Regions from separate parts of the Homo sapiens genome. Here region 2 is linked to region 1. Evidence: promoter capture Hi-C in 16 types of primary human blood cells and fetal thymus (Javierre and others, 2016). All regions are on one chromosome and are shown on one strand. Each heading gives the region's core, a stretch centred on a gene start or on the middle of the fragment in contact. The rest is flanking DNA. Distances are from core to core; before and after follow the strand shown. Region 1 holds the start of MGARP (mitochondria localized glutamic acid rich protein). Region 2 overlaps LOC105379412 (a long non-coding RNA gene).

The links. Contacts are between HindIII fragments. The CHiCAGO score rates a contact against its expected background, and 5 or more counts as called.
Region 2: a fragment that was not itself captured here is called in contact with the fragment with the promoter of MGARP in region 1 in 2 of 17 cell types (erythroblasts and M2 macrophages); the score reaches 5.5 in erythroblasts.

What each region holds. Positions count from the first base shown.
Region 1 is chr4:139,277,709-139,282,921 of GRCh38, reverse strand. MGARP (mitochondria localized glutamic acid rich protein) reads left to right here and starts at 2,697. Exons shown (of 4, transcript NM_032623.4): 1 at 2,697-2,845. The coding sequence starts at 2,764. RefSeq lists an enhancer at 2,733-2,942. The HindIII fragment of the contact is 26,288 bases long and covers 1-5,213 here.
Region 2 is chr4:139,223,267-139,228,479 of GRCh38, reverse strand. The region is part of intron 2 of LOC105379412 (a long non-coding RNA gene); the gene reads right to left. Among named protein-coding and RNA genes, the nearest start is that of ELF2, 49 kb to the right of the region's middle. The HindIII fragment of the contact is 4,075 bases long and covers 421-4,495 here.

The DNA.
Region 1 (5,213 bases), core at 1,448-3,947:
CAGTATTTATCTCTCAAAACATATAGGCAATAGCCTAAGAATTGAGTGCTCAGAAAAACTTAGCTGATATTTCTGTGAAATCCAGGAAACCACTCAGACTTTGAAAATTTCTTTTATTTATATAGCTGTTAAGCCTTGAAAGTATAATTAATGTTGCCAGTAGAGGACCTTTATAATAATGTTTTCAAGACTAATATAATCCTTGTCAATAATCACAGTTAGATGGAGGTCATCTAAGGTAAGCCGAGTTATCTCTGACCCTAAATTCTTGTTTTTCCAACCAAACGAAGAAAAATTTCAAGGATGTGCTCAAGGGCAGCATTACGAACAGTATGATTAATAGTTAGGAAACTATTGGCTGAGCCTTACAGAGTCTTCCATAGCAAAGATGTGTTAAATTTATCTGGGGTTTGGAAGAAACAGTCTGCTCTGGAGTGAATTTGACAACTCGAGGGCATGTCCTCTCTTGGAAAATGTTTCATCAAGATTTGAAAAGAATTTGCCATCAAAACGGAAAGCCACAGGAGCAGCTGAGTAGATAGAAATTCCCTTCAACTTGAAAGGCATGAGCTTTTAACTAAGGAAAATAATCTGGAGAAATGGAACTATTTATCTCACAGTTCTTTTATATCCCAGCTGGTATGGCCATATTCAACCTAGAGAGCATGATAACCTCCCACTGGACCGTACCATCTAATAAGAGATGGTGGGATATAATGAATCCGGCCATGTGCCACACTGAAAGGCAGCAGAGTGTAGCAGGAGAGCCTTGAGCTTCACCTTAGGCTGGAAGTCAGAATCTAGCACTGCCTCCTCCAACTAGCTGAGCACATTTTATATCCTTTATTTTTTTTACTTTATTTTTTACATTTCATATCTAATGTGCCTTTTTTTTTTCTTTCTGAAAAAGAAACAGATGAGGTTTTGCCATATTTGCCAGGCTGGACTTGAACTCCCTAGCACGAGCAATCCTTCTGCCTCCACCTCCCAAAGTGCTGTGAGCCACTGTGTGTGATTTTTTTTTTTTTTTTTTTTTTTTTTGAGACAGGGTCTCACTCTGTCACCCAGGCTGGAGTGCAGTGGCAAGATCTCAGCTCACTGCAGTCTTGACCTCCTGAGCTCAATCAGTTCTCCCACCTCAGCCTCTGGAGTAGCTGGGACTGCAGGCATGTACCACCACACCCATCTATGTTGTAAACTTTTTTTTTTTTTGAGACTGAGTCTCGCTCTGTCACCCTAGTGATTAAACTAGTTAACTCTCTTTCTGAGTATCAAAAAACCAATCTGATCATTGGCTTGTACTCTTCTTATGAGAATATGTTAAATATAATTATAATTAGGTTCAGGACTATAACTTCTGAGAAACGTCTATTTACATAGCAAATGAACAAATATTGTGCCTGTTACATGCCAATAGAACTTTAAGCTAGAAGTATTATGTTCATGTCCTTTTTGTTTTTTAATTCATGACCACCAGTAAATCCCTGGACATTCCCACCCACCACCTGGTGGTGGCATTTGCTAAAGGGAATAATTGCCACCTCCCTCAGAGGGTTGCAGTGAAAATTAAAAGAGATAATAGATGTGAAAGTGCTTTATAATCTTTCAAGTGCCAAACACACATAAGGGATTATTATAGTAGGAAATGGTGTCTTCCAAAGAGTAATCATTTAGACAATGTTATAAACGTAATAAATTATTGGTTTCCATATTCAAACCATGACAAGTTCTTGTAGCCACGATGAGACGGAAAACTAATAATTTAGTATTTTTAGTTGATGTGTTTTTTTGTTTTGTTTGTTTTGTTTTGTTTTTGGGGTTTTTGTTTTGTTTTGTTTTGCTTTTGAGACAGGGTCTTGCTCTGTCACCCAGGCTTGAATGTAGTGGCATGATCTCGGCTCACTGCGACCTCCGCCTCCCGGGTTCAAGCGATTCTCCTGCCTTAGCGTCCCGAGTAGCTGGGATTACAGGCCCGCGCCACCACTCCCGGCTAATTTTTTGTATTTTTAGTAGAAACGGGGTTTCACCATGTTGCCCAGGCTGCTCTCCAACTCCTGACCTCAAGTGATCCGCCTGCCTCGGCCTCCCAAAGTGCTGGGATTATAAACGTGAGCCACTGTGCCCGGCCGCTGATGTGGAAATATTAATTTCACATCCCATAGAGGAATATACAGTGTTTTTGATATTTTAAAGTCGTTTTAACAGTGAGCTGTCTAGAAATTCAACCATTGTCTGCAGATTTTCTTACGATTCTGAGCATCACCCAGTGCGCTAATGGAAGGCTGAGGCTACCCCTTCGCTCTTCTCATTTTTAAGAAACTTCCAGCTATCCTTCCCTCTCCTAGGAAAGCTAACGGAATGCAGGAGATAAAATGGTTTCAGATTACATCCAGCGTGATAAACTGTGTCCTTGTCTTAATCTCGTCCAATTCCCAAAACATTTCCAGCTTGCTGTGAGGAGTTACATTCAGTGGTACAGAATGAGCCAGGCAGGCGACGGCGACTTGTAGGTTCCCCATCCCTTTTCTGAGATGCCGCGGTCAGCTCTAGAGACCTCAGGGATAGCAACAGAGCTGGAGATGGGTTAGGGGAGGATGGTGAGGACTACAAAGGTCTCCCCACCTCCCGGGGGCCGCGGAGGCGGGGCTGGATGAAGGTCGACGTGCCTCCTCCGGGCGGGGCGCTGCCAGGCTCTCAGCCTCTCTGTGGAAGGGCAGCCTGCGCCTGGGTACCGAGGCTGCTGCGCGGCGGACAGCGGGCGCGATGTATCTCCGCAGGGCGGTCTCCAAGACTCTGGCGCTGCCGCTGAGGGCGCCCCCCAACCCCGCGCCGCTCGGAAAGGACGGTGAGTAAGGAGGTCTAGCCCGGAGAGGAGGACGGGCGCCTCGGGTGCAGATTTCGCCCGCGCCAGGGAACCGGCCGGCACCCAGTTGGCCAAACCCGACCCAGAGCAGCAGAAGCCTGGATTGGAGGTCGAGGAGACTGGGGGAGACTCCCGGGAAGACGTCCCGAAGCTCCTGCAGACTTTGGAAGTAGGGAACTTTTCCAGGGTGCCTCAGAGTCCAGATTATCTGGGTTCGCATCCTGATCTTGGACAAATGGCTTAACCTGTTTCCTCATCTATAAAATGAGGGCGATGATGGTTTTCCTTTTTAATGAGTTAATGTATGGTTAAAAGCACTTAAAAACGTGCCTGGCTGACAAAGTCGCAGCTTACCACTTTTATTGTTAGAGGCACCATTCGCTCTCCAATCTCCTGAGGAAGCAGAGGAACGGTGGGAAGGTGGACGCCGATCAGCGAGCGGGCCCGGCAAGCGCTGGGAGGCAGTGAGGCAGGGCCCGCTCAGTGGACGCTGGGCGAATGTTCGTGGGGTAAATAAACCTAACCCTTGGCAGGGTCTCAGCAGCCTGAACCCCGCGAGCGCCTGGCTCTGAGATCCACAACCCCCAAAAAGGAAGCGGCCTTCGGGACACTTTCCTTTGAGGTTGCACGTCGTCCTGCAACTGCTTGGCTCTGTAGTCCAAATATCGACACCTTTGGTTCTGAGGATACGCGAGAAAAAGCAGAATACTCAGCAATTAACTAAAGGGGGAGTTGCAGTGTGAACTGGAGGCTTATTAAATAAAAACGGACATATAGGAAAGCGCTTCGTATAGTGCTGGGAACATAGTAGGTGCTTAATAGGTGTGAGCAAGGAAGATTGTTTTTCTTCTGGGACCAGGCTTGCGCTCCAGGGCGGTTCTGCCCCAGCCGCTTTTCCCTAGTCCCCATCCGTCACCCCTCTCTCTTCCACTCACGACTGGGGGACGGCTCTTAGACAATATCGTGAAGGGTTCTTAATGCTCTCTTCACTTAGCCTCACTTTCTGAGCCTTCCGAGATAATTTTACCCCAGAGGGTGGATTCCAGCAGGAGAGAAAGATGTGCGCGGAGAATTCCATGGGCCGATTTTTTTTTCACGTTGATTAGGCCTCTGTTGGTGGTGGTGGGAGGGAAGGACGGAGGTCTAACTAACTCGCTTTATTTTTCTTGTAAAATGCTGGTGGAAGGAAGTTATCCCTCAAGTATCAGAAATAAGACATCTTCGTTTTCCTAGATCTTTATTGCCTTTATTTTTCTAGATCTTTATACCAAATGATATAGAGCTTTTAAATATATATATACACTGATGAAGTAGGGAGAAGCCATTTATTTTAAACTTCGGAAGATAACGGGACTGTTCTGTTGAGAACGGGGAGAAAGATTAGTCCTCTGACCGTGGCCTTTCGTTTTATCTGTCTGCGTTCCCCACCGACATCATGCGCGCGTGCACGCACACACAAACACACACACACACACGCGCACCTTTTTTTTGTAGCTGCAGAAATTCCAAATAATTTTCTTCCCAATTTGCGGCAAAATAGAAGTAGTTTAAAAATTTTAAATACGTATCTAGCAATGCTGCTTGTAAAGGTACTGGTCTTTCTCTGATTTTCATCTAACTATTTTTGCAGCACTTAAAATGTATTTAAGAACTATTATTGATTGGAAACAAATTTGTCTTCAGTCGTGGACATTACTTAACCTTTTGTTCATACTTTCTACTTTGATGAAAAATAATTTTTTTCAGTTTTATTGAAGGAAAAATTTTTAACTGTGTCTCATCACATTTTGTTCTCTCCTTTTTGCTTTTAAAAGGGTAATTTTATTTTTTTGAGACAGAGTTTCACTCTTGTTGCTCAGGCTGGAGTGCAATGGCGTGATCTCGGCTCACCACAACCTCCGCCTCCCGGATCCAAGTGATTCTCCTGCCTCAGCCTCCGGAGTAGCTGGGATTACAGGCACGGGCCACCACACCCAGCTAATTTTGCATTTTTAGTAGAGATGGGGTTTCTCCATGTTGGTCAGGCTGGTCTTGAACTCCCAACCTAAGGTGATCCACCTACCTCGGCCTCCCAAAGTGCTGGGATTACAGGTGTGAGCCACCGAGCCCAGCCTTAAAAGGGTAACTTTTTAATGAATAAATAATTTAGATTTATAATAGATAATTGGGGAAAAACAGGTAAAATAAAAAATGGAATTCACCTGTAATCCTACCACTCAGTGAACACAACTAATTACGTTTTAGTATATTTAGTTTTCCAGACCTTTTTTTTCCCCTCATTCCTTCCTTGTGCACATTATTTCCACAAATCTTGGATAGTCCCAGAGTATTTTGCTATGACTTTTCACCT
Region 2 (5,213 bases), core at 1,209-3,708, 54 kb after region 1:
CTGCTTAAAACTAATGTTTTGGCCAGGTGTGGTGGCTGACACTTGTAATCCCAGCACTTTGGGTAGCTGAGGTGGGAGAATCTCTTGAACTCAGGAATTCAAGTCCAGCCTGGACATGCAGTGAGATCACTATACTACAAAAAATAAAAAAATTAACCTGACATGGTGGCACACAACGTTAGTCCCAGCTACATGGTAGGCTAAGGTGGAAGGATTTCTTGAGCCTGGGAGTTTGAGGCTGCAGTGAGCCATGATGGCACCACTGCACTCTAGCCTGGGCAACAGAGCAAGACCCTGTCTCAAAAAATAAAAAACAAAAACTAGGGTTTTGTGTGAGTGGGTTATTCAGATGCTGTGTGTGATGGGTGCTGAAAGACTTTCTACTCAAAAATAGCTCCTTCCTAGGCAACTATTGAAGCTTGACAGTCTGCTTTTCCAGAGCCAGCCCTGTAACCACTGCCTCCCCAATTCTGGAGACAGCCCTCAGCAATAACCTATTTTTACCCACAGGTGGTGTCTGAGATTAATTGGACTGGCAGCCCTGTACTTCCACTACTTCCGCATTCCTGTGCTAGCTTTGGGACCCTAGTACCCACCCTCTAAGTTTCATCCTTCTCATAACCTTCTGTGCTTGCACAGGTTGTATGTCCCTAGACTTTCACTGCAGTGTCTGCTTTAGGCACCAGGATCCTCTACAGGAAGTAGAATCTTTCCTGACTACAAACTTATTGGATGTGGCTATTCATTATATGTTTAAGTTTTGCCACTTTTCTTTCCCTGGGGTTGGACTGAGTCTTCATCACATATAATTGATCTGGGTCCTATTGGAGCTAGACAGACCACCCAATACTGCCATTTACCTAACTCTGAATAACATCTTCCTGCCAGGAGACGCCTGCTGATATGCCCTGCCTGCCAGACTAGAATTCCTTGGGTATTGTGGGGGCTTATGCCCCCTCAATTTAGACATACGTGATTGGGCAAATTCCATGGTGCAGATTTTATTTTGCCACAAAAACATATAATAGGTCTATTTCCTCTCCTAGCCCTGTCCCTCCATAAGTGTTCACACATGGTAAACTGACCAGGAAAGGCTCTAATCCTCCATCCCTTACCCCAAGAGGGCTGCAAGTCAGGTAAGCAGCTCAAGAATTCAAATATGCCGGGTACAGTGGCTCATGCCTGTAATCCCAGCACTTTGGGAGGCCAAGGCAGGTGGATCATGAGGTCAGGAGTTCGAGACCAGCCTGACCAACATGGTGAAACCTCGTCTCTACTAAAAATACAAAAAAAAATTAGCCGGGCATGGTGGCAGGGGCCTGTAGTCCCAGCTACTCGGGAGGCCGAGGCAGGAGAATCACTTGAACCCAGGAGGCGGAGGTTGCAGTGAGCTGAGATCACGCCACTGCACTCCAGCCTGGGTGAAAGCGAGATTCCGTCTCAAAAAAAAAAAAAAAAAATTCAAACATATGCCCACATACTATTTATCTATATATGTGTAAAATGTAAACCAAGTTAACAGACTGTTTAATAAAATCTATCCTCTTTCCATGGAAAATATACCTTCAGAGCAATAAAACTGAAATGTATATAAAGCTGTGGTTTTTCATACAAACAGAAATTGGCAAATTTTTTTTTCTTTTTTGAGACAGAGTTTCGCTCTTGTTGCCCAGGCTGGAGTGCAATGGCATGATCTCAGCTCACTGCAAACTCTGCCTACCGGGTTCAAGCAATTCTGCCTCAGCCTCCCGAGTAGCTGGGATTACAGGCTAATTTTGTATTTTTAGTAGAGATGGGGTTTCTCCATGTTGGCCAGGCTGGTCTTGAAGCCCTGACCTCAAGTGATCTGCCTGCCTTGGCCTCCCAAAGTGCTGGGATTATAGGCGTGAGCCACTGCACCTGGCCAAAATTGGCAAATTATTAGATGACTGAATTTAGTTATTATTGCACATTTGCCATCTAATTGTTATTGTCTGGATAGTCTATTAATAAGTGATATAATGAAGACCATAATAATTCATAAATTTTTATGAATTTATTTCATGAGGTTCATTTCAGCGAATCACCAATTATTTTTTATTATTTTATTTAGAGCCAGGGTCTTGCTCTGTCACCCAAGCTGGAGTGCAGTGGCACAATCATAGCTCACTGACTGTAGCCTCAAACTCCTGTGCTCAAGCAATCCTCCTGCCTCAGCTTGCTGAGAAGCAGAGACTACAGTCAAATGCCAACATACCCAGGTAATTTTTTTTTTTTGAGATGGAATCTCACTCTGTCACCCAGGCTGGAGTGCAGTGGCATGATCTTGGCTCACTGCAACCTCCACCTCCCAAGTTCAAGCGATTCTCCTGCCTCAGCATCTCGAATAGCTGAGATTACAGGCACGTGCCACCACACCCGGCTAATTTTTTATATTTTTAGTAGAGACAGGGTTTCACCATGTTGGCCAGGCTGGTCTCGAACTCCTGACCTTGTGATCCACCAGCCTCGGCCTCCCAAAGTGCTGGGATTACAGGCGTGAGCCACCACGCCCAGCCAATATTTTGTATTTTTTATAGAGATGGGGTCTCTCTGTGTTGCCTAGACAGGTCTTGAACTCCTGGCCTCAAGCAGTCCTCCTGCCTCAGCCTTCCAAGGTGTTAGGATTACAGGCATGAGTCACTGTGCCCAGCCAATTATGTTGTTATAATCAAGATTTTAACAAAATTTGTATGTTAATGATAACCATGATCTAAAAGATTCAAAACTAATGTTGGGCACAGTGGCTCATGCCTGTAATCCCAGCACTTTGGGAGGCTGAGACGGGTGGATCACCTGAGGTCAGGAGATCGAGACCAGCCTGGCCAATGTGGTGAAACTCCATTTCTACTAAAAATACAAAAATAAGCCAGGCATGGTGGCGGGCTCCTGTAATCCCAGCTACTCGGGAGGCTGAGGCATGAGAATCACTTGAACCCGAGAGGCAGAGGTTGCAGTGAGCCAAGATCGTGCCACTGTACTCTACCCTGGGCGACAGAGCAAGACCCTGTTTCTAAAAAAAAGAAAAAAAAAAGATTCAAAATAAAATGTAACTGCATTCAAAGTATACAAAATTTGAGTACATTTGAATCAACAATTATAAATTAAATATACAAATACAGCTTGAGGTTGAGTGCATTTGGGTACAGGCAATCTCACACCTGTAATCACAGCACTTTGGGAGGATGAGGCGGGATGATCACTTGAGCCCAGGAATGATATAATAAAGATAATAATAATTCATATATTTTGTATATTTGTTTTCTGGTGTTCATTTGAGCAAATCATCAATTATTTATTATCATTATTGTTGTTGTTTTAGAGTCAGAGTCTTGATCTGTCACTCAGGCTGGAGTGCAGTGGCACAATCATAGCTCATTGCACCCTCAAACTCCAGGGCTCAAGCAATCCTCCTACCTCAGCCTCTAGAGTGCCAGAGACTATGGTCCATGCACTAGGCCCAGCTAATATTTTGTATTATTGTGTTCAATATCTATTTTCCCATATAAAAAATTGATGTCAGGCCAGGCATGGTGGCGTGCACCTATAGTCTCAGCTACTTGGTAGGCTGAAGACGGAGGATCACTTGAGGCCAGGAATTTGAGGCTGTAGTGCATTATTATGATTGCACTTGTGAATAGTCACTGCATTCCAGGCTGGGCAATATAGCAAGACCTCATCTCTAAAAAGATTTTTTTTAATTGTTGTCATGGTTAATATTGTATCTAAACCTATGCAATAGCTGGCTACGATGGTTAACACTGAGTGTCAACTTGATTGGATTGAAGGATGCAGAGTATTGCTTCTGGGTGTGTCTGTAAGGGTGTTGCCAAAGGAGATTAACATTGAGTCAGTGGACTGGGAGAGGCGGACCCTCCCTCAATCTGGGTGGGCACCATCTAATCAGCTGCCAGCACAGCTAGGATAAAGCAGGCAAAATTTGGAAGGACTTGACTTGCTGAGTCTTCCGGCCTTCATCTTTCTCCCACGCTGGATGCTTCCTGCCTTCATCTTTCTCCCACGCTGGATGCTTCCTGCCCTTGAACATCAGACTACAAGTTCTTCAGCTTTTGGCCTCTTGGACTTACACCAGTGGTTTTCCAGGGGCCTTTAGCTGCAGACTGAAGGCGGCATTGTTGGCTTCCTTACTTTTGAGGTTTCGGGACTCTGACTTCCTTGCTGCTCAGCTTGCAGGTGGCCTATTGTGAGACTTCATCTTGTGATCATGAGTCAATAATAACTCCTTAATAAACTCCCCTTCATATATACATCTATCCTATTAGTTCTGTGCCTGCAGAGAACCCTGACTAATACACCAGCTTCTAAGATGGCTTCCAATTGTCCTTGCCTCCTGGTATTCATACCATTGTATAGTCTACTGCCACACTGATTCAGGGCTGTTCTGTATGACCAATAGAATATGGTGGAAAAGATGCTGCATGACTTCCAAATCAAGATAATAGAATTCATTGAAGCTTCTCTCTTAATCTGGGATTGCCTGCTCTGGGGGAAGCTGGCAAGCATGAAATGAGAACATTCAAGCAGCTCAAGAAGAGAGGCCCACATGCAGAGGAACTGAGGCTTCCTGCCAACAGCCAGCACCAACTTGCCAGATATGACAGTGAGTCATTTTGGAAGTAGATTTTCCAGCCTCAGTCAAACTTTCAGATAACTATAGACTTAGTTGACATCTGACTACAACCTCATGAGACATCTAAAACCAGAATATTGCAGCCAAACGACTCCTGAATTTCTGATGATCAGAAATGGTGAGAGATGATAAATGATTATCGATGTTTTAAGACACTAGGTTACAGGATAATTTTGTCATGCAGCATTAGATAATGAACATAACTCACACATATTCATATATAAGAGTAAAATGAATTTTTTTCGTTGCAAAATGTTTCTCAGCTGCCATTGCAACTACTGCAAATAAAACACCAATTCATGAATAGCTCCAGAGCCACACATTGAAACATGAGTAAAAGCAGGACAAATACATTTTTATTCTATTGTGAACCAATGCTTTTTTAGTGAAAGAATTTACTGCATTCATGCTGTTGAGAAAAAAAAAATCTGAAAGGTAAATTAATTTGTCTTTTCTTTTACTTAAGAACTTTTGTTACTCAAATCCTCCCCACAGCACAGAGCATCATCTCTCTCCAATGTCAGCAGCAGCACCCCATAAATCT